Regions from separate parts of the Homo sapiens genome. Here region 1 is linked to region 2. Evidence: promoter capture Hi-C in human tissues and cell types (Jung and others, 2019). All regions are on one chromosome and are shown on one strand. The core of a region is centred on a gene start or on the middle of the fragment in contact, and the rest is flanking DNA. Distances in the headings are between cores, read along the strand shown.

The links. The method cuts DNA at HindIII sites, captures the fragments that hold promoters and counts their contacts. A contact is called where the count stands out against the background at its distance.
Region 1: a fragment that was not itself captured here is called in contact with the fragment with the promoter of RNF216 in region 2 in 1 of the 25 tissues and cell types used here (aorta).

The regions. Positions count from the first base shown.
Region 1 is chr7:6,380,749-6,387,850 of GRCh38, forward strand. RAC1 (Rac family small GTPase 1) reads left to right here. Exons shown (of 6, transcript NM_006908.5): 2 at 6,464-6,535. Among named protein-coding and RNA genes, the nearest start is that of RAC1, 9.8 kb to the left of the region's middle. The HindIII fragment of the contact is 3,671 bases long and covers 32-3,702 here.
Region 2 is chr7:5,777,710-5,784,564 of GRCh38, forward strand. It overlaps RNF216 (ring finger protein 216), which reads right to left and starts at 3,954. Exons shown (of 17, transcript NM_207111.4): 1 at 3,832-3,954. RefSeq lists a silencer at 3,363-3,752. The HindIII fragment of the contact is 32,599 bases long and covers 1-6,855 here.

The DNA of each region.
Region 1 (7,102 bases), core at 617-3,116, 600 kb after region 2:
CTATGACAGTATTTTGCTCTACTTGTTCATTTTGCTGTATTTGCTTTATCATGTCTTCCTGTTATCAGAGGGAACCTTTTAAGAGGATTTATAGAGGAGTTGATTTTGTTTTTTGTTTTGTTTTGTTTTGCTCTTTTTGAGGTGGAGTCTTGCTCTGTTGCCCAGGCTGGAGTGCAATGGCATGATCTCTGCTCACTGCAATCTCCGCATCCCAGGTTCAGGCGATTCTCCTGCCTCAGCCTCCTGAGTAGCTGGGCTTACAGGCACCCACCACCATGCCTGGCTAATTTTTGTATTCTTAGTTGAGACAGGTTTCACCATCTTGGCCAGGCTGGTCTGGAACTCCTGACCTCAGGTGATCCACCTGCCTCGGCCTCCCAAAGTGATGGGATTACAGGCGTCAGCCACCATGCCCGGCCTGATTTTGAAAAAGAATAGGGACTGTGTGCAGTTACATATAAATTCTTATTTTTGAACTCTTGTGTGTTCAGCTGGCTTGTATCAACTACACCAGGGTTAGCCTTGATTCTGGAAGGGTGGATTCAGACTTCAGCTCAGTTGTACATAGTGTCTTCAGCCTAAGTGAGAAACTTTATGCACTATCTTAATTTTTTGAAGCTTCTAGTGGTAATAATTGCTGGCTTTTTTTTTTTTTTTTTGGTAGAAACAGAGTCTTGCTCTGTCGCCAGGCTGGAGTGCAGTGGCACGAAATCAGCTCACTGCAACCTCTGCCTCCCAGGTTCAAGCAATTCTCCTGCCTCAGCCTCCTGAGTAGCTGAGATTACAGGCGTGTGCCACCACACCCAGCTAATTTCTTTTGTATTTTAGTAGAGACGGGGTTTCACTGTGCTGCCCAGGCTGGTCTTGAACTCCTAAGGTCAGACAGTCCGCCCACCTTGCCCTCCTAAAGTGCTAGGATTACAGGCATGAGCCACCGTGCCTGGCTTATGGCTAGCTTTCTTTACATTGATTGTGAAGTCAGATATTGGTAGTAGAACATCATAATTTTAGATTGGGTTTTGTGTTTATTTAGCACTGCACTACTCTAGTGGTGTATTTTTCTGGACAGATTTTATCTGCATAGTTAACGCAGTTATATATAAGGCCTACCGTTACAGAATCCCCATACCTTGTTTGTCAGTGTAAATCGAGGACCTTCATGCGAGGTCTTTAATTTATTCAATAAGTAGGAATATATATTTGACAGTTACTAAATTCTACTGCCTTGTCCTTAAGATCTACATACTTTTTTTTGTTTTTTGAGTCAGAGAGTCTCGCTCTGTTGCTCAGGCTGGAGTGCAGTGATGCGATCTCAGCTCACTGCAACCTCTACCCCGTGGCCTCAAGCGATACTTCTGCCTCAGCCTCCTGAGTAGCTGGGATTACAGGCGCCTGCCACCACACTCAGCTAATTTTTTGTATTTTTAATAGAGATGCAGTTTCGCTGTGTTGGTCAGTCTGGTCTCGAACTCCTGGCCTGAAGTGATCCACCCGCCTTGGCCTCTTGCTGGGATTACAGGGAAGAGCCACTGCGCCTGGCCAAGATCTACTCACTTTTAGACAGCAATATATGCTCTGTATTTTGGTTTGCAATTGTAATTGTCATTGGAAGAGTTTGGCTTTTCTGTCCTGAGATCAACGTGTCTTTAAAAGAAGGCAGTGCAGAAAGTTGTTATTTTTTGAGCTTCTTGGATCTTTTATTTTTTTAACGTGAGGAAATTCCTAGCGTTTCTAGATTTGTTGATTGTGCTTTTAAGTTTTGGTTTATAGATTTCAGGAAGTAACACTAAAGTTTACCCTACTCTCCTCAAAAAGTAAGTAAAAAGTTCTCTTGGCTGGGCGTGGTGGCTCACGCCTGTAACCCCAGCACTTTGGGAGGCCGATGGGGTGGATCTCCTGAGGTCAGGAATTCGAGACCAGTCTGGCCAACATGGCAAAACCCTGTCTCTACTGAAAATACAACAACAAAAAAAAATTAGCTGGATGTGGTGGTGCTTACGTGTAGTCCCAGCTACTTGGGAGGCTGAGGCAGGAGAATTGTTCGAACCCAGCAGGCAGAGGTTGTGGTAAGCCAGGATTGCACCATTGGGCTCCAGCCTGGAAGACAGAGCCAAGACTCCGTCTTAAAGTTCTCTTAATGGAAAAATGAAGAACATAATAGCAACATAAGTTATTTGCTTTCATTGTGGTTATTTCTACAGGACAGGGCAGGGGAAGCACAGATAGGTTAAAAAAAATTGTAGCATCATGAGCTAGGGGGAAATCCAATGTAGAAATGGCATGAACTTTCTTCCAGCCGACTCATGTTCGTTTCCTAGAGTGATGACATTGCTCGATGATTGAAAAGAGGTTGAACTGAGCAGTTAATTATATAAAGTTAGAAATTCCAAAGAAGTAGTAACTACCAGAAATTCTCCAGCAGTATCAGTCAAGACTTGTGGCCAAATACGGCTTCCATTCTTCATGAGGGAAAGGCCATGGAAAGGCTGTCACATTGCCCAGTGCAGATGTTGACTTGGTTTGTGGAAGCGCAGCGTGGACAAGGAATGAATATACACTAATAGGAGTGGAATAACCTTTTTCTTTTACCTATTTGAATAAATTAAGTAAAAGTTTTAATCAGAAGACTTAAAGAGGAGTCGATTTTATCTTTTGATTGCACTAAGCTTAAATATAAGGTTGCACTTTAAGAATTCTGTAGTTTAATAATCATATTCTTATAAGACATAGATTTGTAACAAATAGTGATTGGTAATAAAATTTCAGTCAGTATCAGATTATGCCAGTACCTTGAATTTCTTCCCGGTTGAGCCTTTCTCAGCTAAAGATGTCATTCAGGAAAGGAAGTTTAGAGGATTTTAGACACAGCTGGTTGCCTTTATATTAGTAGTTTTGTTCCTCATATACATAGAGACTTAGGACAGAATAGTAAAAGAAGTGATAATGACATTTTATCATAACAGTCAAAACCTTCATAGCAGCTTATCCTTGACACTGAGTGGCAACTATTGTTAAGGTTTTTACACAACCTTTATCTTTTTTTTTTTTTTTTTTTTTTTTTTTTTTTTTTTGAGACGGAGTTTTGCTCTTGTTGCCCAGGCTGGAGTGCAATGGCGCAATCTCGGCTCACTGCAACTTCCGCCTCCCGGGTTCAAGCGACTCTCCTGCTTCAGCCTCCCGAGTAGCTGGGATTACAGGCATGCACGCCCGGCTAATTTTGTATTTTTAGTAGAGAGGGGTTTCTCCATGTTGGTCAGGCTCTTCTCGAATTCCTGACCTCAGGTGATCCGCCCGCCTTGGCCTCCCAAAGTGCTGGGATTACATGTGTGAGCCACCGAGCCCAGCCAACCTTTATCATTTTTAAAAAGGTCCCTTAGAGCCTTAGGCTCCACTTTCTTCCTCAGCTGCCACATCCAAACCATGGGTAAGCGATGCTTGATCTGCCTCCAAGTTCAAGCAGTCCAGGAAACAGCCCACTTATGTTCACTGTCCAGTCCCCATTCTTGGTCCAGGCCACCATGGATGGCTCCTGGACTGTAGCAACAGCTTCCATGTGTGTCTGCCTTGACTGAGTCCCTGGCGTCCTCAGGCTTCCTGCCACACTGCAGTTGGAGGCTTCTTCTAAAATCCAGTGCTTTCTGGGCAATTTAAAACCTGTGACTTTCCAAGTAGGATCTAGTCCCCATGTCCTTAACAAGAAGAGGTAACGTATTTCCCTATGCCACTGCCCACTTATTTTTTTATTGTTGAGATGGGATCGTGCTTTGTCACCTAGGCTGGGTGGAGTGGTGTGATCACAGCTCACTGCTGCCCTGAATTCCTGGGCTGAAGGGATCCTCTTGCTTCAGCCTCCTGAGTAGCTGGGACTACAGGCAAGAGCCACCACTTATTTTTGAATTTTTTGTGGAAACAAGGTCTCCCTATGTTGCCCAGGCTGGTCTTGAACTCCTGGGCTCAGCGATCCTCCCACCTCAGGCCCCTGTGCTGGGATTATAGCCTCCTGTGCTGGGATTACAGGCCTAAGCCACTGCACCAGGCTTTTATTTTTTAATTTAAAAAAATTTATTTTTTTGAGACAGGGTCTCACTTTGTCCCTCAGACTGGATGCACTGGTGCAATCTTGTTTCACTGCAGCCTTGACCTCCCTCCTGGGTTCAAGTGATCCTCGTGCCTCAGCCCCCCAAGTAGCTGAGACTACTGCTGCACACCGCCACACCCACCTAATTTTTGTATTTTTAGTAGAGAACGGGTTTCTCCATGTTGGCCCAGCTGGTCTTGAACTCCTGGGCTCAAGCGATCCACCCACCTCAGCCTCCCAAAGTGCTAGGATTACAGGCATGAGCCACCATGCCTGGCCTAAAAATATTTTTTTCAGCTCTAGAAATGTTAGCTCTTTTGCTGTACATTTCCAGAGCTGCTTTAATAATGACAGTTATCACACGCATAATTTCATGTGATGATTGCATTCTTAATTTTTAAATTTAACAACTGCACTTACTTCATGAGGTCTTGTTCATTGATACATCTTTAGCACCTAGTGTGCTTCTGGTGTAGCACACGGTTGATATAAATTGAAATTGAATTAATGCTCACAGTAGTTTGGGGATGGAGCTGGTAGTTCTGCATTAATTTTGCAGGTGAAAAAAAAAGGCATGAGGAAGTTGAAACTTGCCAAAAAATACAGCCAGTACGTGCTAGAATTGGCCCTGGGTCTCAAATCTGGGCTTCTGACTCCAAAGCTTAGGCTCCTGCTCATACAGGTTTATTTTCACATTCTAAGCTTTTAACGAAATGTATGTCCAATGAGTCATTTCTGTTTAGAAAGCCTTTAGGAGTTGGAAGCTACTTCCTGGTGATGTAATGTTTGACTCTCTAAAGTCTTTGGAATGGGGAGTTCCAACTTTTGTTAAGCCCTCAATAATGTCATGAGTGAATGAATATTGGCAAGACTGGCTGGGCCTGTAATCTGCCTTGAGTGTGAGGGAAAATGGAAAAGCGCTTAACTTTATGGTGAATTCTAATTTATAGTAGTTGAGATTGAACGACAAAAATCTTAAAATTATGATGCTGATGTGTCATTGTGACCTTGGTAAACTGACAGCACAGCAGAGAGAAGGGCTCATTAAGGAGAGCACTTGGCTAACTGAACCCTCAGGATGCCAGAGACTTGAATTCTCATGTAAGCCCTTAAGCTTGCCTTGTCAATGCTGTAAAAATTGGAGACCTTTATGTTTTGCTAATGATGTGGTGACCTTAGTTATTAGGTGATAGCCTCTTGAAAAACATTCCAGGTGGTTGGGAGACTTTCAGCCACCACTCTTCTGCCTGGCGGCACACTGGTAATATTAGGATTAGTCTCTACCCATTGCCAGTTGTGCAGGTGGTGCTCCTTTCTCTGAAGTATTTCTACACACTTCTCTGTTTGGCAAGTTTAACTCCCATCGTCTCTGAGCTGTTAATTAAATGTCTGGGATGTATTGTGATAGTCCCTGCTTATAGACTTATGGTGCTGTGTGAGGATTGGGGCTGGGGGAGGTGGCATTTAAATACAGCTGAATCAATGTGATGGCAGTTACGTGTGGTAGTTTATTGACTAAGCACTTTCTCTCAAGAGAACAGTCATTGCTGATTGCCATAGGGGAGGCTGTAGGGATGTGGTGGGATTTTGAGCTGTCCCACTTAAGGCAGCAGAATAAGTTACTTAAAGAGGAAGGCTGTGTTTGTATATTAGTGTTAATTAAAATACCTTTAGGCTGGGTGTGGTGGCTCCAGCCTGTAATCCCAGCACTTTGGGAGGTCCAGGTGGGCGGATCACTTGAGGTCAGGAGTTCGAGACCAGCCTGGCCAACATGGCGAAAACCCATCTCTACTAAAAATACAAAAAAATTATCCAGGCGTGGTGGTGGACAGCTGTAATCCCAGCTACTTGGGAGGCTGAGGCAGGAGAATCGCTTGAACCTGGGAGGCAGAGGTTGCAGTGAGCCAAGATGGTGCCTCTGCACTGCACTCCAGCTGGGGCGACAGCACGAGACTCGGTCTCAAAAAAAAAAAAAAAAGAAAAAAAAGAAAAAAAGAAAATATCTTCAGGATCAAACTTAAGATTCTTGATGAGAGGCTCTACAGATGTTCACAGAAGAGACGTGAAGTTTTAAAATCTTGTTTCTCTTGAGTCTTGTAGCTAGGTGACAACTGTTTCTTGACTATTAATGCTAACACCGGGTACCTAAACAGAATGTGATGGCTCCTGACTCTATCTTTCTGAGAAATTCTAGTTTGTTTACTTTAAATTTCAGGGTACCAATGTGTATGTGGTGATAAAGGGTTATAGAAAACATTTTCTTTAATGCTAAGTATGTGATGTATATGCCTTGATTTTTTTTCTCTAGAAATTATTTTAACTTAATAGTGAAAGCTAAGATTACATTCATGTTGACTAAGCAACCTTTTTTCTCTTTCTCTTTAGAGCTGTAGGTAAAACTTGCCTACTGATCAGTTACACAACCAATGCATTTCCTGGAGAATATATCCCTACTGTGTAAGTATCTTAAATTGGGAATTAACCTGTTTGTGTTACGGGTTTCACATTTCTTTGACCATTTGTTTTGCTGTAAAGCCATCTTTAATCCTCATATGAACAGATACTAATTTTTTCTTAAACATTCACTGAAACCTAATTATAAGGTATATTAGGCTTTTAAAAAATAGGGCTGGGGGTGGTGATCTCAGCACTTTGGGAGACTGAGGCGGGTGGATCAACTGAGGGTCAGGAGTTCGAGACCAGCATGGTCAACGTGATGAAACCCCATCTCTACTAAAAATACAAAAAATTAGCCAGGTGTGGTGGCGGGTGCCTGTAATCCCACATACTTGGGAGGCTGAGGCAGGAGAATCACTCGAACCGTGGAGGCGGAGGTTGCAGTGAGCCAAGATCACGCCACTGCACTCCAGCCTGGGCAATGAGAGCGAAACTCCATCTCAAAAGAAAAAAAAAAAAGAAACTTAGGGTAATATAAACTTTTCACAACTTTGCTAGTTGATTTTTAGACATCCAGAAAGCAAACTTTAACTGTCTGTGAGGTACAGAGACTGGATGATGTTAAAG
Region 2 (6,855 bases), core at 2,704-5,203:
TGGTAAAATAACATCCATCATTATGGATATAAATATGCAAACAATTAGTCTAGAGTTTAACAGCTCTAAGAATCCTATTATCTGTGTATTTTTACAATAGGAAAGGTTTTAAATCAAAAATTAAACTCAAAATCTTCAGTGGGCGGGCTAAACAATTTAACATAAAACATCAAGATTTTCTTCAACTGTCCAATGAAAATTAGTTTAGAAACTAGGACAGATAAGTAAGTACATCCTCATGTGTGGAGGGTAAAATCAACGTTTTCAACGATCTTTTTAGAACTGAATCTTCTGTGACCAAAGGACATGCTTCTGCTTCTAGCCCAAGTACTGCCTTGCAGGCTCCATCCCTTGACATGTTTTCATACGGCATTTGAGTTATTTCTTTTAAACCACAAATCTCACCATGGTGAAACCGAAATCCTTACCATGGCCTACAAAACGCTACCATCACCTGACCTTGCTGACATAGCGGGCCTTACCTCATACCTTTTCCCCCCGCATTCACCATTCAGTAGTAACAATGGTTCAGTTCCATGACTTGCTCCTTCCTTCCACTGCAGGCTCTTCCCCAGCTAAACTACTCTTCTTCACTGCCTCTTGGACCAAATTAACTCTATTCATTGTTCGGTTCTTTGCTTTCTCCTCAGAGAAAAATTGTTCCTGATTATCCCCTAGATGTTCCTCCCTGGTTCAATCACACAACGTACCTCATTTCTTCAAAGTACTTCCAACAATACTTTAATATACTTATTTAGGAAACTATGTGTAATTTTGGTCTCCTCTGCTAAAACTTAAGTTCCAAGAAGGCAGAACCAAAGTGTCACTTGATCCCAAAGCCCCAGGACATAGCATATCGGATGGCACAGTAGATGATCTTCAATAGTAGATGTACTTTCAGAATAAATAGCACTCACTAATTATAGAAGGATAATTAGTGGCATGAACTCTGGGTCCAAACTGAGTTCAAGTTCCACGCTGACCCTTACAAGTTTTGGGACTAGATATTTTTCAGCACCTCAGTTTCTTTTTTTAAAATTATTATTATTTTTGAGACGGAGTCTCGCTCTGTCACCCAGGCTGGAGTGCAGTGGCACAATCTCGGATCACTGCAACCTCCGCCTCCCGAGTTCATGTGATTCTCCTGCCTCAGCCTCCCCAGTAGCTGGGATTACAGGCGCACGCCATCACACCTGGCTAATTTTTGTATTTTTAGTAGAGACGGGGTTTCACCATGTTGGCCAGGCTGGTCTCGAACTCCTGACCTTAGGTGATCTGCCCGCCTCGGCCTCCCAAAGTGCTGGGATTACGGGCGTGAGCCACACCATTCCCAACTATGTTCTATTATCTTTAACAATAATGCAAATATAATGATATCAGGTATGAGAATGAATTATGTCTCTAAAGAGCTAGAATATAGCAATGCCTAGAATTTTGTAAACACATTAAATAGTAGCTGGTAGTAGAATCAGCAAATACCAGCTCTCTCAACTATCCTATTCATCAACTTTCGATCTGCCTCACTCACACCTAACCCTTCTTTATCAGATTTCTCCACAGGGGCTTCAGGAGTTCTCTTTTATTAGCTGCTGCTGCTCTAATCAGGGTAAAAATCTAAAGCCTCGAATGAGGTTTGCCAGGGGGTCCAAAATCTGGCCCAGACTCTCCAGGCATTTCCTCAAATCCACCACTACTCCCCACACCCCAGGCGCAATAAATTATGAAATACAAAACCAAGGCAAAGCCAGGCCATGTATTAGCCTTCTTCCTTAAAGCAAGCCGACTAAATTGAGATGTTTCATAGAATCTTCCCGCTTCTCTCCCTTCTCAGCGCGTAAAGAATGTTCTGGCAGAGCACGGTGGCTAAAGCCTGTAATTCTTGTGCTTTGGGAGGCTGAGGGTCACTTAAACCCAGGAGTTGGGCAGCACAGCTAGACTCCGTCTCTTAAAAAAAAAAAAAAAAAAAAAAGTTAGCCGAGCGTGGTGGTGCGCGCCTGTAATTCCAGCTACTCGGGAGGCTGAGGCAGGAGAATTACTTGAAGCTGGCAGGCGGAGGGTGCAGTGGGCAGAGATGGCACCACTGCACTTTAGCCTGGGAAATACAGCCAGACTCCGCCTCAAAAAAAAAAAAAAAATGCTCAATGAATGGGCTGGGGTGGGTGGGGCAGAGAGGAGCTGACGGGACATACTACATCTAAAACGCCACTGTTTCCGAGGGACGCGGATATGCTCTGGTCCCCCACCTACATCCCATTCAGTAAACAAAGGTACCCACCGAAACATACAGCAGCACAAACCCATTTTTATAAGACCCTGTGCCTGACTATTGCAGGAAGATGGAGGACAAACAACAGCTGGAGAATAGATGAGCTGATGTTTGGCTCCTAACCTCTAAAACAATGCCAACCCAGCCCCTTCCAGGAGTAACAGCTTGAAAACAATACATGGCATTTAGATAGTTTTTAGCATTCCTGGCAATTCCGTTACTAATTCATGGGTCTTCCTCACAAGGGAAGAAACCCCATTTTTGAGGCACAGGCCCACCAGGGCAAAATGACCTGGCCAGGCTGGAGCCAGGTGCATGTGAGGGCCACTGTGAGGCCCTCTGCTCTGCTCACCCTCTACGTCACAGTGCTTCTTCTGTAGGTGAACGTGTGGGTTTTCAGCCAGGGCGCTTCTTACTGAAGGGCCCGAGGGTCCCGGAGAACATATCTGAAACGTCTTTTGAAAAGACTGTAGCACTTTGGGAGGCCGAGGCGGAGGGATCACCTGAGGTCAGACGTTAGAGACCAGCCTGGCCAACACGGAGAAATCCCGTCTCTACTAAAAATACAAAAATTAGCTGGACGTGGTGGCAAATGCCTGTAATCCCAGCTGAGGCAATCCCTGTGAGGCTGAGGCAGGAAAATCGCTTGAATCCGGGAGGCAGAGCTTGCAGTGAGCCGGGATCGCGCCACTGCACTCCAGCCTGGGCAACAGAGCAAGACTCCGTCTCAAAGAAAAGGAGAAAAAAAAAAAAGTAAAAGAAAAAAGAACGTTCTCTTTGCACGATCTAAGTACCTAGGACAGCTGCTACCCAGGCCCTTAGGGATTTACAGAGCCCTGTCGGATTTGTCAGAAATTTCTGTAACCCGCACGCCGCGCACGCTCCAGGGTTGGTTGCAAGTGGCCCAGAGTCTTGGATCCCTGGTCCTGTTCCACCGGGAGCAGAACCACCTCGACGCGGGGACAGCGGCCTCGCTCGCTGCCCAGCGCCCGGACACCCGAGCCGGGCCAGCCCCCAGCGCCCCGCAGAAGGGTTTGACGCACTTGCGGCGCCCTCGCGAGTGCCGGGTGACAGTCGCCAACTTTCGCGGAACACGCGCTCCAGATGTGAGGGAAGAGGAGGAAAAACGCCGCCCGCCTGGGCTGGGGTTCACAGGCACGGCCCGCCTCCCGCCGCTCCTCCAGGCCGCGCTCGGGTGCACGGACACCGCCTCCGCGGCGGCCTCGGGCCCGGGGGAGGGAAGCGCGGTCTCCCGGGCTGTTGCCCTCGCGCAGCAGACCCGAGGGGCCGGCCCGCGAAACTTCGCGAAGTGGCGAGAGGGGGCCACCCGGCCGCTCAGCGCCTTTGTCGCTCCAGCCTCGCCACCGCACCGGGCTCGAGACGCCCAGCCCAGCCCCTTGGCCCGATCCCGCCCGGGCCTCGGCCCGCGCCCCTCAGCTCGGCGGCCCTCACGGCCCGCGCCCCCGCCCCCACCCCCGGAGCTCCACAGAGGCGCCCCTCAGAGAGGCCGCGTCGCCTCACAGACCCGCCCAGGAGCTCGAGCGCGCCCCGCAGCCGACACTCACTCGTCACTCAAGTCGCCGGCTAGCCAGGCAGGTTCGGCGGCCTTCGCTACCGCGCCGCTTACTCCTCAGAAGCCGCAGCTGCGAGCTCCGTGGCAGCCGCTGCACTCCTTCCGGCCCTGCCGCGGCGTCACCTCGCGCCTGCGCACAGCGCCCCCTCCCGACTAAGGACAGGAAGAACCATAGAGGCACTCCGGGTACTGCGGAGGAGGGACCGGGGGGCTCACCATAGAGAGGGCCGCCTAGTCGCGCCTGCATCCGGGCTCTCCGCCTGCGGAGACTTGACTCCCCCACGAGGCAGGAGGGTGAAAGGAAAGGAGACCCCCATATCCGACCCCACAAGGAGCCACCATCTCCCCAGAGCTGAAAAGGGTATGGGGCAGGTGGTTGTGGATGTTTACTCGATATCTACTGATTTGCCCTAATTCGTTTGGCAAGTCATTCATTCATTCTGCAAATATATTCTGCGGATTTCCTGTGGGCCACACACTGTTCTAGGAATTGGGGAAATTAAGAGTAAAGTGGGTCCCATGGCTGGGCACAGTGGCTCACGCCTGTAATCCCAGCACTTTGGGAGGCCAAGGCGGGTGGATCACTTGAGGTCAGACGTTGGAGACCAGCCTGGCCAACATGGTGAAACCCGTCTCTACCAAAAATAAAAAAATTAGCCAGGCATGGTGGCGGATGCCTGTAATCCCAGCTACTCAGGAGGCTGAGGCGGGAAAATCACTTGAACCTGGGAGGCGGAGGTTGTAGTGAGCCAACATGGCGCCCCTGCACTCCAGCCTGGGCAACAGAGCAACCCTCCATCTCGAAAAAAAAAAAAAGTAAAATGTGTTCCTGGCCTCAGGAAGTTTAGGTTTTAGTGAGCAAGTGAATAACTGACTAAAATACTGCTCCTGCTGGGCACAGTGGCTCATGTCCATAATCCCCGCGCTTTGGAAGGCCAAGGCAGGAGGATCGCTTGAGGCCAGGAGTTCAAGACCAGCCTTAGCAAAATAGCAAGACCCCAACTCTTAAAATAATTGCTGGCCAGGCGTGGTGGTTCACGCCTGTAATCCCAGCACATTGGGAGGCCGAGGCAGGCAGATCACTTGAGGTCAGGAGTTCGAGACCAGCCTGGCCACCATGGTGAAACCCCGTCTCTACTAAAAATACAAAAATTAGCTGGGCATGGTGGTGCGTGCCTGTAATCCGAGCTACTCGGGAGGCCGAGGCACAAGAATTGCTTGAACCGAGGAGGGGGAGGTTGTAGTGCAGTGATTATGCCACTGCACTTCAGCCTGGGTAACAGAGTGAGACTGTGTCTCAAAAAAAAAAAAATTGCCAAGTACACCTTCAAGTAGAGATATCAAGTCAGTAATTAGATAAATGAGTCTGGGCTGGGCATAGTGGCTTATACCTGGAATCCGAACATTTTGGGAAATGGAGGTGGGAGGATGGCTTGAAGCCAGGAGTTTGAGACGATCCTGGGCAATAGAGTAAGACCCCATCTTTACAAAAATAAAAATTAGCCGGGCATGGTGGTGCGCACCTATAGTCCCAGCTACTCAGGAGACTGAGGTGGGAGGATTTTTTTGTTTTGTTTTGTTTTGTTTGTTTTGTTTTTTTGGACAGAATCTCACTCTGTCAGCCAGGCTGGAGTGCGGTGGCACGATCTTGGCTCACTGCAACCTCCACCTTCTGGGCTCAAGCGATTCTCCTGCCTCAGCCTCCTGAGTAGCTGGGATTACAAGCATGTGCCACCACGCCCGGCTAATTTTCGTATTTTCAGTAGAGACAGGGTTTCACCATGTTGGCCAGGCTGGTCTTGAACTCCTGACCTCAGGTAATCTACCCACCTCGGCCTACCAAAGTGCTGGAATTACAGGAGCGAGCCACTAAACCCGGCCAGAGGATTGTTTGAGCCCAGGAGTCCGAGGCTGCTGTGAGCTATGATTGCACTGCTGCACTCCAGCCTGGATGACAGAACAACAGCCTGTCTCAAAAGAAGCAAACAAAAACAAAACAGGGAAATGAGAGGAACAATAGTCTTGATGCGGCAATGAGTGTTCCTTCTCTAAGACAGTAGAGTGTGGCTTATGGGGGCTTGCATGGGACAGAAAAAGACCACTACTCATAGTGCTTTGGGGAACAGTGTCCTGAGGGAATAGTCATGTTTCAGTGAAGTAGAAATTGAAGGGCTGCTTACAGAACAGGACGAGGATCTAGGGATCTTACAGATGTCAGGCCCTGAGTTAGAGGGTGCAGTGCATGGGAGACATTAGAGGGTGAACAGGAGAGAGAGTTTAAGATAGATACTTACCTGAGATGAGATCCTGGAATCACCTGGAAGGTAAAACAAAGGCATTGGCCTTGATGAGCTTATCCTCCATGCTGGTCCTCTTGGGGGAGGTGGATAATCGCTGTCAGTTACAGCCTTCTTCTTAGGATGGTCCTCATAAGCCCTTTGAGATGTTGGAAGAAAGCAGTATTGGAAGGAGAGCTTGGTGATCTTAGCAGGAGTGCAAGGTTCTTTCCGGACCACTGAACCCCTCTGTGGTTGGTGTCACACCCAAGGCAGGTGCGATCGAGTAACCTCTCTGAGTCTAGCTTTTTTTTTTTTTTTTTTTGAGATGAAGTCTTGCTGTGCCACCCAGTCTGGAGTGCGGTGGCGCGATCTTGGTTCACTGCAAGCTCCGCCTCCTGGGCTCACGCCGTTCTCCTGCCTCAGCCTCCCGAGTAGCTGGGACTACAGGCGCCCGCCACCAAGGGCTAATTTTTTTTTGTATTTTTAGTAGAGATGGGGTTTCGCCGTGTTAGCCAGGATGGTCTCGATCTCCTGACCTCGTGATCCACCCGCCTTGGCCTCCCAAAGTGCTGGAATTACAGGCATGAGCCACCGCACCTGGCCTGAGTCTGGAATTTTTTATTTGTTCAGGCTTTTTGGAGACTCTGACTCAGACGTGATGGCAATGAGAAGAGAGACTTTATTTTTGTCTTTATTTATTTATTTTTGAGACGGTGTCTCCTTCCATCGCCCAGGCT